Linked DNA regions of Homo sapiens: region 1 is linked to region 2. Evidence: promoter capture Hi-C in 16 types of primary human blood cells and fetal thymus (Javierre and others, 2016). All regions are on one chromosome and are shown on one strand. The core of a region is centred on a gene start or on the middle of the fragment in contact, and the rest is flanking DNA. Distances in the headings are between cores, read along the strand shown. Region 1 overlaps HNRNPA1 (heterogeneous nuclear ribonucleoprotein A1). Region 2 holds the start of GPR84 (G protein-coupled receptor 84).

Region 1 (6,977 bases), core at 2,533-5,032, 76 kb before region 2:
CTTGATATTGGATTGTAGCCTTGAGTCTTAATATGTTTAGATTAACAACTTTATTCCATATTGTTCAACAGGAAACAAAGCTTAGCAGGAGAGGAGAGCCAGAGAAGTGACAGGGAAGCTACAGGTTACAACAGATTTGTGAACTCAGCCAAGCACAGTGGTGGCAGGGCCTAGCTGCTACAAAGAAGACATGTTTTAGACAAATACTCATGTGTATGGGCAAAAAACTCGAGGACTGTATTTGTGACTAATTGTATAACAGGTTATTTTAGTTTCTGTTCTGTGGAAAGTGTAAAGCATTCCAACAAAGGGTTTTAATGTAGATTTTTTTTTTTGCACCCCATGCTGTTGATTGCTAAATGTAACAGTCTGATCGTGACGCTGAATAAATGTCTTTTTTTTAATGTGCTGTGTAAAGTTAGTCTACTCTTAAGCCATCTTGGTAAATTTCCCCAACAGTGTGAAGTTAGAATTCCTTCAGGGTGATGCCAGGTTCTATTTGGAATTTATATACAACCTGCTTGGGTGGAGAAGCCATTGTCTTCGGAAACCTTGGTGTAGTTGAACTGATAGTTACTGTTGTGACCTGAAGTTCACCATTAAAAGGGATTACCCAAGCAAAATCATGGAATGGTTATAAAAGTGATTGTTGGCACATCCTATGCAATATATCTAAATTGAATAATGGTACCAGATAAAATTATAGATGGGAATGAAGCTTGTGTATCCATTATCATGTGTAATCAATAAACGATTTAATTCTCTTGAATGAAATGACAACTGTATGGATTTGGGACTGGCAGAGATTTGGACTTTCCCTACCCACTCCCCCTGATAATAATGTTGAATGCTTCTATCACAATTCAAGTTCAAAGCTCTGCCAGGGAATAGAAACTAGCTGCTGGCTAATGCCGCTCCATAAATCCGCAGATTTGAAGTGTCTGGGAGGCCTTTTAAAAATAACTAATATCAGAAAGCATTTTAATGAACGTAAAGATAGGCTTACATTAAAGGAAAACTGCAGTTTGACTGGGTTCTGGTTGGGTGGGCCTTCAGAGGTTCTATCAGTTAACTATACTAATTAATTTGGAGATTCAAACCATACCAATAGAAACTAAATTTTTCTACATAATTTCATGTTAACTGCAGTTTCCCTTTATGGCACAAGGGGTCACACAACCTACCTAAAATGTTAATTGTATAGAAAATGATTTCTAAACCTTTAACAGTTAATATCCAATAATGTGTTATTTGTACATAGATTCTTTTGAGCCTTACCTTTGGTGCTCTCTCAATTTCAGTGCTATTGTACCTAGTAGCATAGAGATTTGTCTATCAATAGGACTGTATATTCCATCCCATGGGTGTGTTGGAAGTTTGGGGAGGAGGAGGGTGGTGGGAGGTGGGTGGGAGGTGGTGGTGGGTGGGAAAGCATGGGTGATAGTTCCATGATACTGGCTGAGTTTGCAATAGCAGGTGGAACCCTAACTATTGAGGGAGTTTGCAGATACCTCAGGATTCGTGACAATGCCTTTAAAGATCCAGGAGAGATGTTCAGCTACTAGGAACTGCTAGCAAGTATAGCGCGAATGGCTCCGAGCTCAGACACTCTACAGCTGAGAGTAGACACTTGTGGTATGTGGAGTACAGATAAGCCAGGGGCAGGCCACGGCACGCTCCATGAAAGCTAGGAGGGAGTGAAATATCAGTGATCATCGCAAGGAAGGAGGCAGACAAGAGTAAGGCACACCTGACTCTTAGGACTAGCAGTCAGAACCAGGAGGAAAGGTTTTATTGCTATGCGGGTAGGTAAGAACAGATTTTACTTACATCCATATAGTTACTTAAAGTCCAGTTTTCTGTTAAACATTTTTCTTAATATATTGAGCCAAAACTAGTCCAGTTAAGCTGAACTTGGTTTTTCTGGAGATGAATTGTTTTAAATTGACACCCTATTGATGGCTCCCAGTTGAAGGAAGTGAGCACATTATTTGTACTGTGAATATAAATTTTTGCCCTTTTATTTATCTTCCTTTGACCCATTTCCTTAAAATAATGGCTCAAAGTAATAGACTTCCCCAAATGGTGGGGGGATGGGTGGGTTATTAATGGGAGGTATGGGGGGTTTAGCTTGAGATGGGACTTGGTCTTAGAGCTAGTTCTAAAGGTTGTTTACTTTTCTAGGGAGGAGTCTGCTACTAGTCTTATCAGCTCTTAAAAACAGAAACTCATCTGTCCAAGTTCGTGGCAGAAAGGTAAGTTTTTACAAATTAGTGCTCAGCAAAAGAATGCCCTGCGTTCCCAAAGTAAAAGAATGACAAGCTGTACCTTAAACCAAAACACTTCGTAATCTCATCCAATTGCAAAAAGAGTTATTAGCCAACCAGGTATTCCCAGTAGTGACAGTGGATATAACTGTGTAGTCATTCACCTCTGCTTATATGAATACTTTACAACCTCTTTTGCCTTTTGCAGGAACGTCCTTGTGAAGACCTTTATCTGAGCCACTGTACTTCGTTATCACTGCCATGCAGTTTACATGAGCTGTTCTGCAGCTCAAATTCCATTTTGTGAATGGGTTTTTTTTTTTAATAAACTGTATTTAACTTAGTTCTGCTTGTTTTGTCCTCCTTTGTGATATCTATGGTTAATAACATGTTGAAATTCAGGTTAGAGAGGATATGGTTGATTCTAATGTGAATTTCTATATTTAGATTCATCCCATTCAGCTTCATGGTTTAATGAAAATAGAAATGGGTTCTCACTACAGGAGTAATTCTTGGCTCACTATAAGTAAACTTTACTATTGATCCAATTGAGCATGTCCTTTTTCTAGCTCCCCTGGCAAGGGAAAATCAAGTTGTAGCACTGCCATTGAGCTCAGTATGTCTCTATTGGGACTTACGCTCACCATCTGTTGCAGAAGGACATAATGGATTTCATCTTTGGCAAACAAGTTGGGCTTATTGGCCAGCTGTCTCATACTTCAGTAGAATTCTCAAGCCAGGAGTAAGAAAGTGAACTGAATGAGAGGCAAGACTTAGCCTCTCAAAGATAGCCTAAAAATGTAAGGACTATTTTGGAAGCAATAATTGTACCCTCTAGCAAATGCTTAGGTTCTTGCGTGTGTGTGTGTGTGTGACGAAGTGTCCCTCTGTCACCCAGACTGGAGTGCAGTGACACTCTGCTCACTGCAACCTCTGCCTCCCAGGTTCAAGCAATTCTGCCTCAACCTCCCGTGTAGGTGGGACTAGAGGTGCCTGGCTAATTGTATTTTTAGTAGAGACACAGCGTTTCACCGTATTGCCCAGGCTGGTCTTGAACTCCTGGCCTTAGGTAATAAACGCCCACCTTGGCCTTCCAAAGTGCTGGGATTAGAGGTGTGAGCCACCGTGCCTGGCCACTAAACTGTTTCTGTTATTTTCAAGGAAAGTTTATCCAGCCTCAGTTTTGAGCCTAACAAAAGTGGAGGTAGGATTCTTGGGAAATTTTTGCCTTTTAACACCCATGCTGTTTTGAAACAACTGTATATGGGACTAAGTTCCATTAGCCTTTTGATACTTGGGGGAAGTAATGTCAGGGGTCTCAGTTTGTGACTTGGCATTTGCTAGAGGTTTTTATTGTAGACAATCAAATTTCCTTGAAGGGAAAGGAAAACTCCTAAGGATAGTTTCCTAAAAGCATTCCTATTGAAGAGAAACATTGTTTCAGTCCATGTACTTTGCTATATACTTTATTATAATACTGTGAAAAGTAAATTCCATTATTTTCTAAATGAGGAAATAGGCTGAAGATAAAATCCTGTCCCAAGTTCCTGCAACCACTGGATCATATAACTCAGATTGCTCTATTTTCAAACTATGTTCCACCTTGTTTAGGTCAGCACGCTGAACAAGTATGTGTGTGTATAAGACCTCACTAGTGATTTTCATGAGAGCAGGGGGATCTGACGTCTCTTAGGTAAACTAATTAAATTTCTGAACAGCTAGCCCAAGCCCCTGCCTTTGCAGCTTGAAATGTGGAAACAAGATGGCCGGGCGCGATGGCTCATGCTTGTAATCCCAACACTTTGGGAGGGCGAGGCGGGTGGATCACGATGTCAGGAGTGCCAGACCAGCCTGGCCAACATAGTGAAACCCCATCTCTACTAAAAATACAAAAATTGGCCAGGCGCGGTGGCTCATGCCTGTAATCCTACCTGGGAGGCCAAGGTGGGCGGGTTGCCAGCCTGGGCAACACGGTGAAACCCCGTCTCTGCTAAAAAAGTACAAAAAAATAGCCGGGCGTGGCAGCGGGCGCCTGTAGTCCCAGCTACTCAGGAGGGTGGGGCAGAAGAATTGCTTGAACCGGGGAGTCGGAGGTTGCAGTCAGCCGAGATCGCGCTACTGCTCTCCAGCCTGGGTGACAGAGCGAGACTCTGTCCCCCCTGCCCAAAAAAAATACAAACATTAGCGGGACATGGTGGCGCACGCCTATAATCGCAGCTACTCTGGAGGCTGAGTCAGGAGAATTACTTGAACCCAGGAGGCAAAGGTTGCAGTGAGCCGAGATCGTGCCACTACACTCTAGCCTGGGCGACAGAGCAAGACTCCGTCTCAAAAAAAAAAAAGAAAGAAATGTGGAAACATTGCCAGGTACAGTAGCTCAACACCTGTAATCCCAGCACTCTGGGAGGCCTAGGCGGGAGGGTCACTTGAGGTCAGGAGTTTGAAACCAGCCTGGCCAACATGGTGAAAAGCCCGTCTCTACTAAAAATGCCAAAATTAGCTGGGCATGGTGGCAGGTGCCTGTAATCCCAGCTACTTGGGAGGCTGAGGCAGGAGAATTGCTTGAACCTGGGAAGCGGAGGTTGCAGTGAGCCAAGACCCTACTGCTGCACTCCAGCCTGGGCGACAGAGCGAGAGACGCTGTCTCAAAAAAAAACAAAACAAAACAAAAAAAAACAATGTGGAAACATTGGATGCCTCATGCCTGTAATCCTAGCACTTTGGAAGGCCGAGGTGTGCAGATTGCTTGAGCCCAGGAGTTGGAGACCAGCCTGACCAACATGGTGAAACCCATCCCTACTAACAAATATTAGCCAGGCATGGTGGCATGCGCCTTTAGTCCTAGCTACTCAGGAGGCTAAGGTGGGCTGAGATCAGCCCACTGCACTCAAGCCTGGGCGACAGAGACTCCATCTCAAAAAAAAAAGGAAGTGCTTCAAGTTGTTTTTGTTCCCTAAACTTAGGCTAGAGACCACACTCCATATCTCCCTAATCACTGTGCTGCTTTTAGGTCTCAGTATCTGTGGTGTCCATTTTTGTTTGAGACAGTCTCGCTCTGTCGCCCAGGCTGGAGTACAGTAGCATGATCTTGGCTCACTGTAGCCTCGAACTCCCAGGCTCAAGCAATTCTCTCACCTCAGCTTCCAACATAGCTGGGACCACAGGCATATGCCACTGTACCCACCCACTAATTTTTTTTTTGTAGAAACAGGGTCTCCCTATATTGTCCAGGCTCGTCTCAAGCTCCTGGGCTCAAGCAGTCCTCCCACCTCAGCCTGCGGTGTCCAGATCAGAACTTGGATGTAAGGTTTTAATGTTGGAATGGAGCTAGTAAAATTGAATAAAAAGTAAATGTAAAATCTTCTGAAAAGGTAAGCTGTGTAATTCAGTGACTGGGAATACTGGAGACTATACAACTCCAAGCAAGGAGATTGTGTCCTGTCAGGGAGGTTTGACTGGACTTTAACTGATATGGGTAAGGAATCTGAAACTTAGTGAATTATATTCTGTTTCAAGAAGAAGCAAAATAGACTAATAAAAAATATCTAGGCTGCGCACAGTGGCTCACGCCTGTAATCCCAACACTTTGGGAGGCCGAGGCAGGCAGATCATTTGAGGTCAGGAGTTCGAAACTAGCCTGGCCAACATGGTGAAACCCATCTCTACTAAAAATACAAAACAATAGCCAGGCATGGTGGCGGGCGCCTGTAATCCCAGTTACTCAGGAGGCTGAGGCAGAGAAGGTGGAGGTTGAGGTTGCAATGAGCTGAGATCGCGCCACTGCACTCTAGCCTAGGCGACAGAGCGAGACTCTGTCTCAAAAAAAAAAAAAAAGCCAGGCGTGGTGGCTCAAGCCTGTAATCCCAGCACTTTGGGAGGCTGAGGCAGGCAGATCACCTGAGGTCGGGAGTTCAAAACCAGCTTGGCCAACATGGAGAAACCCCATCTCTACTAAAAATGCAAAATTAGCTGGGCATAGTGGTGGATGCCTGTAATCCCAGCTACTTGGGAGACTGAGGCAGGAGAATCACTTGAACCCGGGAGAAAGAGGTTGTGATGAGCTGAGATCACGCCATTGTACTCCAGCATGGGCAACAAGAGCGAAACTCCGTCTCAAAGAAAACAAACAAAAAAATCTTTAAGGATCTAGAAAAGGAGGGCCCCAAAACAAGAATTGGGTAGTGTTGGCCGGGCACGGTGGCTCACTCCTGTAATCCCGGCACTTTAGGAGGCTGAGGCGGATGGATCACCTGAGGTCAGGAGTTCAAGACCAGCCTGACCAACATGGAGAAACCCCTGTCTCTACTAAAAATACAAAATTAGATGGGCATGGTGGTGCATGTCTGTAATCCCAGCTTCTCCGAAGGCTGAGGCAGGAGAATCACTTGAACCCAGGAGGTGGAGGTCGCGGTGAGCCAAGATCGTGTCATTGCACTCCAGCCTGGGCAACAAGAGCAAAACTCTCTTTCAAAAAAAAGAAAAAAGAAAAAAAAAAGATCTGGGTAGTGTTTGTCTAACATAATCAGAGAAAACGTTTCACAGGAATAAATAGTTTACTCCACTGTGGAGCAGGTTTTACCAAAGCTTCGGTGTGAAATCTTCTGAAATTTTGATGTATAAATTCCAGCCAAGAACAGCCCATTCAGTCTTCTGAGAGAACTCTGGCACATTAGGAGGACCCAGGCTGAGAGGTAAGCAGGAGGGGAAGAA
Region 2 (6,863 bases), core at 3,183-5,682:
TGAATCCTTTTACAACTCTTCAGAGTTGTCAACTTTCAGAATCTTAGAAGGTCTGAATAGGAAGGACAGTTAGGGATCATCTGGACACTTGATCCTAGTTTTAGAAAGGCGGATTTGAGACTCTGCCCTCAAATCACGGTCTTACAACGTACTAGGCATTCGGCCTTGGACAAATTACTTAACCTATTTGTGCTTCAGTTTTCACATTTGTAAGAAAGAAATTATAATAGATACTTCATGGTAATTTTGTGAGGATTACATGAAATAATATATGTACAGGGAACTGCACTGGGCACGTGTTAAGAGTGTACCCCGCACCCCGCTTTGTACAGATGATAAAATCTGAGCCCCAGAGTGGTCCAGAGATCTGCTCAAGTTCCGAGAGCTAACTATGAGAGAGCCTTGACTGAAACCTTTGTCTCTACACCCATAAACTGTTGTTCTTCATTGGTCCAACAGTTTACCTGGACCCCTGCCTTAGTAGCCCCAGCTTGATTTGGTTTAGGCTCCTGTGACTTTCGTGGAAGGAGGACAACCAAAAGTGCATGTTCCATATTAGGAGTCAGGATTCCTGGACCCTAGAAGTGTGTTGCATGTGAGGGTATCAATCTGTCCACCCCAACTGTGGTTCTTTCTGCCCTTAATATCTTCAGATTTTACTTTGTTCTCTCAAACCATGGACTTGGGGGAGGGAGGGGACAACATGCAGCCAGAGCATTAAGGTCAGCATGACTCACATTCCATCCCCAGTGCCACCCCAGTGCCCACACCGCTACTTCCCCCAGCCCCACCTCAAGTAGACAGGAATATCTCATGAATAATAAATGTCTCATTCTTCACTTTTCTTCCTAAGCTTTGGGGGAAAGGGAGGGTGAAGATCCCTGGGTCTCTACTCCCTGGTCAGGGGTCTCTGGATTCCCAGTCCTGCCTTGTGTCCTCAACTGGGAAGCCAGAAAGGAAACGCAGAGAACCAGCGTCACCTGGTGGCCACAGGTGCTTTAAGGATGTGTGTAAGCACGCACATTGTGACAGGATTTGGTCATTCTGGAGGGAAGGAATGGTATGGTTTCCTAGCCTGGCCCCTGAGCCCTTTTAACTAGAGTCTTTGTTTTCCTGCTTTCTTTTTCTTTTCTTTTTTTTTTGTTTGAGACAGAGTCTCGCTCAGCCACCCAGGCCGGAGTGCAGTGGCGCGATCTCGGTTCACTGCAACCACTGTCTCCTGGGTTCAAGCGATTCTCCCGTCTCAGCCTCCCGAGTAGCTGGGATTACAGGCACCCGCCATCATGCCCGGTTAATTTTTGTATTTTATTTTATTTATTTATTATTATTATTTTGAGACAGAGTTTCACTCTTGTTGCCCAGGCTGGAGTGCAATGGCGTGATCTCGGCTCACTGTACCCTCCACCTCCCGGGTTCAAGCGATTCTCCTGCCTCAGCCTTCTGAGTAGCTGGGATCACAGGCATGCGCCACCATGCCGGGCTAATTTTTCTATTTTTAGTAGAGATGGGGTTTCTCTGTGTTGGTCAGGCTGGTCTCGAACTCCTGACCTCAGGTGATCCACCTGCCTCTGCCTCCCACAGTGCTGGGATTACAGGCATGAGCCACCGTGCCTGGCCCATAATTTTTGTATTTTAGTAGAGACGGGGTTTCACCACGTTGGCCAGGCTGGTCTTGAACTCCTGACCTTAGGTGATCTGCCCACCTCCGCCTCCCAAAGTGCTAGGATTACAAGTGTGAGACACCCCACCAGGCCTGTTCTCTTGCTTTCATAAGTCCAGATGACAAATGCAAGGCAACTGAGGGCCTGGGACTCAGGTGAATTAGCCCCATGGGCAGGACCCTGCCAGGGCAGCTGGAACCTTTTTCTGCCTTTGCCTTAACTAAGCTCAGTTCCATTTCTACAGACCAAGGAGTCCTCCTCCATGACCATTCCCTTCGCACAGAGTGAGGGCTGGGGGACTGGTCCCACTGGAGTAGATATCAAAGCTGGATTATAAAACTTTTTTGAGCTGAATAAACTTGTTTGTAGGGATGGCGGATCCTGGCAGCAGTGGTTAGGGGCAGAGGCCATTTCTGGGAAATTAAACAAAAAGGCAGGCTAATCCTCTTAAATCACCTCACATGTTTTATTACCTAGAAACCCCTCTTCTAAAGGCTATGTCCCAGGCCAGCTGCTTCCTGCTCCTGCTTTGACCTAGGTACCCCTGAATCCTTAGGTATTAGGTTCCAGCTCCTGGTGGCCACAGGTGCTTTAGGGATATGTGTGAGCATGCACATGGTGACAGGATTTCGTCATGCAGGAGGGATGGAATAGTATGGTCTCCTCCTAGCCTGGCCCCTGAGCCTAACCGTGACCTGTTTCCTTCTTCCCCAGAGACCACACCTGAGCATTAAAAGCACAGAATTCATTTATTAATAATTAATAATACTCCTTGGGCAGTCTAGGGCTGAAACATTGATCAAGTGATGGAGAGACTTGATTTGGGAGGCTGGGGAGAGATTGTTGTGAAAATGCCCACATGTGTTATTTCACCTATTCTCCTATTACCTGGCCACTTTGGTCCTGGAGGAGACAGTCCTGAATTCTGGTGACTAGGGTCACAGTTCTAATGGAGCCTATGGAAACTCCGGGGCCCTCTTTTTAAAATGGAGCCATATGCTTGGCGGAATTGGCGGTTCATGGCTGCATAGAGCACAGGGTTGATGCAACCATTGAGCCAGGTGAGGTTGGCAGCAAGCATGTGGACCACCCGGGGAGCCTGGACTCTGGCATCCAGAATGTTGAGCAGCAAGAAGGGGATGTAGCTCAGGGCAAAGCAGAGGAACACAGCAAAACACATTCGAGTCACCTTCCCAAATTCCGATGAAGAATCCGGAGCTCTTCTGGCTCCTTTAATTGGCTGGGCTTTGGCAGATGCTTCTGGAGGGCTTTTCTCTGCCATCTGCTTAGCTCTCTTGCTGTTGATCTGGTCTCCCACTTCTGATGAGTCCCCTTCCAGGGTCTGGGTGGTGGCAGCACTGACTGGCTCAGATGAAATCCCCTCACTGGGTCCTCCTGATGCTAACCTGCTGTCCAGCTCCTGGAAACGACCAGGCATGGCCTCATCAGTCCTGGCCACATGGTTGGAGTGGATGCTTGCCTGTCGCAACTTGTATTGGTCCAGTGCCTGTGCTGCTCGTTTGACCTGGCGGTGGATGAGGCAATAGAAGATGCCAACACTGCTGAGCCCAAGCACAAAGTAGATGCCCATGAGGATGGTGGTGTAAGGCCGGCCTCGGATGCGGTCAAAGCTGCAGGTGCAGACTACAGGTACCAGGATATAAATAGGCCAGAGGGGAGCAAAGCTGGCCACGCCCACAACCCAGGTGCTCACCAGTGCCAGCACTATCCCCTTGGCACTGAAAACTTGGGGAAAAAGCTTAGGGTGGGCAATGAGGAGGTAGCGTCCCAGTGCGATGAGGCAGAGGGTCAGGATGGAGACAGAATTGGAGGCAAAAAGGAGGAGCCCAAATACCCTGCAGAAGGTGGCACCGGTGCGCCAGTGCAGGTGGAGGTAGGTGTCCACAGAGAAGGGCTGAAGGAGCGTGCAGTAGAGGAGATCAGCCAGTGTGAGGTTGGCTATGAGCAGGTTGAATCGGGTACGGAGCTTGGGCTGGATGGCCAAGGCCAGTAGGGTGAGCACATTGCCCACGGTGCCTGTCACAGCCACCACCACCCCCCAGCTAACTGCAACATAACGATAGCCCAGCACAGACTCATGGTAGCAGGAGAAGTTGGCGTCAGAGCTGTTCCACATGATAGAGGCTAAAGAGGCAGAGGGTGGAAGAGGAAGAGGGAATCAGAACCTAGCATTCAACTTAGATCTCTTGAACAGTTCTGGGACCCTGGACATCTAAACTGTTCCTGGACCTCACCTTAATTCAGTATCCTCCTGAACCATTCCCAGGCCTCTTCATCTCAAGATCCCTAACTCTCTCCTTAGGTTCTCTTAGTCCTTTCCCATTCTCAAATATTTCCCCAAGTTTTTATCTAAATATCTCTTGCCTAAATATCTTAGTCTTATTCTGCTCCAAACCTCAGTCCTCTTCTATATCCATCCCGCTGCTCTCAGTAAACCCAGTGCCCTCCAACTTTTTTAATTCCTTCCCCATCCCCAAAGACCCCCAGGAGTCCCCTCTCTCTATTCAGCATCGTGTATTCAGGATCCTCTCTGTATTCAGTTCCCTCTGCTCCTTTCCACTACACACACATATAGGCTTTAGTCATTTCTGTTTGTTACCACCTGGGAGATGAGGAGACCAAGAAGGTAAAAGTATACCCACAACAAAAGTGCTTACCTGAGTTTCTCAGCCTTCAATTCTTTCTATAATGGAAGAAGTTCAACTCACCCAAAGAGCAGTCCTTTCTGGTGGACAGTTAGGCTTCAAGCAGGAGACATCCTGCTCTTATGTATCCTATTATAGTCCACTGAAAGAATAAGAAACTCCCCCATTACCCAATCCCAGCCACTTCCTTCACCACCTCCGGTCCTACTCATTTTGCTTCGGCTAGTGAAATCTAGGCTTCTCTGTTGAAAGTCCCCCGCTACTTACCTCAGAGTGGTTTCACTCTTCCTTTCTCCTTCCTGAAACCCAAACTCTGTTTTCTTCCCCTCTTTGCATGGCAGAACTCATCTGTAAGATCATTGCCAAGAATTGCTAGGGCACGGAGTCAGAGCATCAGAACATTTGGGCCACTCCTCAAAGGGCCAAAAGATAAGACCAAGTTCCAGGAGCAACTTTAGGTACCCCCAGAAGCCTTGGGTTTGTTTCAGAGGAGCACTACCTTTCTTGTCTCCACGGCTTAGACATGGTTCAAGTCAGAGGGACCCATGTGACACCCTAGCACATTTGAGAAACCAAGTCAGATGAAGAAAAGTGGGGAATGAGGCATCCAGAATTCTGGTTTCATTCTCCTCAAGGGATCAGGGTCCTGTTCAATCATTCATTTATCCATTTACCCAACAACTTAGTACTGAGTGCCTACTATACACCAGACTCTGATCTAGACACTGGGGATACAAGAACGTCTGATATATGGCCTTGTGCATAGTCTACTAGGGGAGACAGATACATAAATATGCAAATGCTTAATCGATTCTCCAGAGCAAGGGTGAGTAAACTTCACCCTATGGGCCAAATCTAGTCTGCTGTTTTTGTATAGCCTGTGACCCAATCATGTTTTTTTTCCATTTAAAAATGGTTATATTTTAGGCCAGGTGCAGTGGCTCACGCCCATTATCCCAACATTTTGGGAGGCCAAGGAGGGCAGATCACTTGAGGTCAGGAGTTCGAGACCAGCCTGGCCAACATGGTAAAACCCCGTCTCTACTAAAAATACAAAAATTAGCCAGGCGTGATGGGTGCGCCTGTAATCCCAGCTACTAGGGAGGCTGAGGCAAGAGAATCGCTTGAACCCGGGAGGCGGAGGTTGCTTGCAGTTAGCCAAGATCACATTGCACCACTGCACTCCAGCCTGGATGACAGAGCAAGACTCCGTCTCAAAAAATAAAATAATAAATAAATAAGTAAGTAAAATAAAAATGGTTATATTTTAAATTGTTATATAAGTGCCTATGTAATATCCTCAGTTTTATCTCTTGATTAACACAGTTTAAAATATTTATAATCAGGCCCTTTGAGAAAAAGTTTGCTGAGGCTTGCTTTAAAATACTATATAGGCCTGGCTTGGAGGCTCATGCCTGTAATCCCAATGCTTTGGGAGGCTGAGCTGGGAGGATGACTTCAGGTCAGGAGTTTAAGACCAGCCTGGGCAACATAGTGAGACCCTGTCTTTACAATAAAAAAAAAAATAGCCAGCTGTGGTGATGTGCACCTGTAGTCCCAGCTACTGGGGAGGCTGAGGTGGGAGGATCATTTGAGTCTGGGAGGTCAAGACTACAGTGAGAAAGATTGTGCCACTATACTCCAGCCTGGGTGACACAGCAGGACGTTGTCTCTGAAAAATTAGAAAAACAAACTAACAGGCTGGGCGCAGTGGCTCATGCCTCTAATGCCAGCACTTTGGGAGGCCGAGGCAGGTGGATCATGAGGTCAGGTGTTCGAGACTAGCCTGGCCAACATAGTGAAACCCCGTCTCTACTAAAAATACAAAAAATTAGCTGGGCGTGGTGGCAGGCGCCTGTAATCCCAGGTACTTGGGAGGCTGAGGCAGGAGAATCGCTTGAACCTAGGAGGTAGAGGTTGCAATGAGTCGAGATGGTGCCACTGCACCTCAGCCCGGGCGACAGTGTGAGACTCCGTCTCAAAAACAAACAAACAAAAAACAAACAAAAAATACATCGCTGGGTGCAGTGGCTCACACCTGTAATCCCAGCACTTTGGCAGGCCAAGGCGGGCAGATCACTTGAGGTCAGGAGTTCAAGACCAGCCTGGCCAATATGATGAAACCCCGTCTCTACTAAAAATACAAAAAATTAGCTGGGTGTGGTGGCAGGCACCTGTAATGCCAGCTACTTGGGAGACTGAGGCAGGAGAATCTCTTGAACCTAGGAGGTGGAGGTTGCAGTGAGCCGAGATCGCGCCACTGCACTTCAGCCCAGGTGACAGTGCGAGACTCCGTCTCAAAAACAAACAAAAAACAAACAAAAAATACATGGCTGGGTGCAGTGGCTCACACCTGTAATCCCAGCACTTTGGGAGACCAAGGCGGGCAGATCACTTGAGGTCAAGAGTTCGAGACCAGCCTGGCCAATATGATGAAACCCCGTCTCTACTAAAAATACAAAAATTAGCCAGGCGTGGTGGTGCGCACCTGTAATCCTGGCTACTTGGGAGGCTGAGACAGGAGAATCGCTTGAAC

The links. Contacts are between HindIII fragments. The CHiCAGO score rates a contact against its expected background, and 5 or more counts as called.
Region 1: a fragment that was not itself captured here is called in contact with the fragment with the promoter of GPR84 in region 2 in 17 of 17 cell types (monocytes, fetal thymus, naive CD8 T cells and 14 more); the score reaches 12.8 in monocytes.

Annotation. Positions count from the first base shown.
Region 1 is chr12:54,284,478-54,291,454 of GRCh38, forward strand. It overlaps HNRNPA1 (heterogeneous nuclear ribonucleoprotein A1), which reads left to right. Exons shown (of 11, transcript NM_031157.4): 11 at 72-2,610. Among named protein-coding and RNA genes, the nearest start is that of HNRNPA1, 7.2 kb to the left of the region's middle. The HindIII fragment of the contact is 6,133 bases long and covers 717-6,849 here.
Region 2 is chr12:54,360,054-54,366,916 of GRCh38, forward strand. It overlaps GPR84 (G protein-coupled receptor 84), which reads right to left and starts at 4,433. Exons shown (of 2, transcript NM_020370.3): 1 at 4,340-4,433; 2 at 2,392-3,806. The coding sequence starts at 3,798. The coding sequence ends at 2,608. All of the region lies in intron 1 of GPR84-AS1 (GPR84, ZNF385A, ITGA5 and GTSF1 antisense RNA 1), which reads left to right. RefSeq lists an enhancer at 4,362-4,451. The HindIII fragment of the contact is 7,569 bases long and covers 3,419-6,863 here.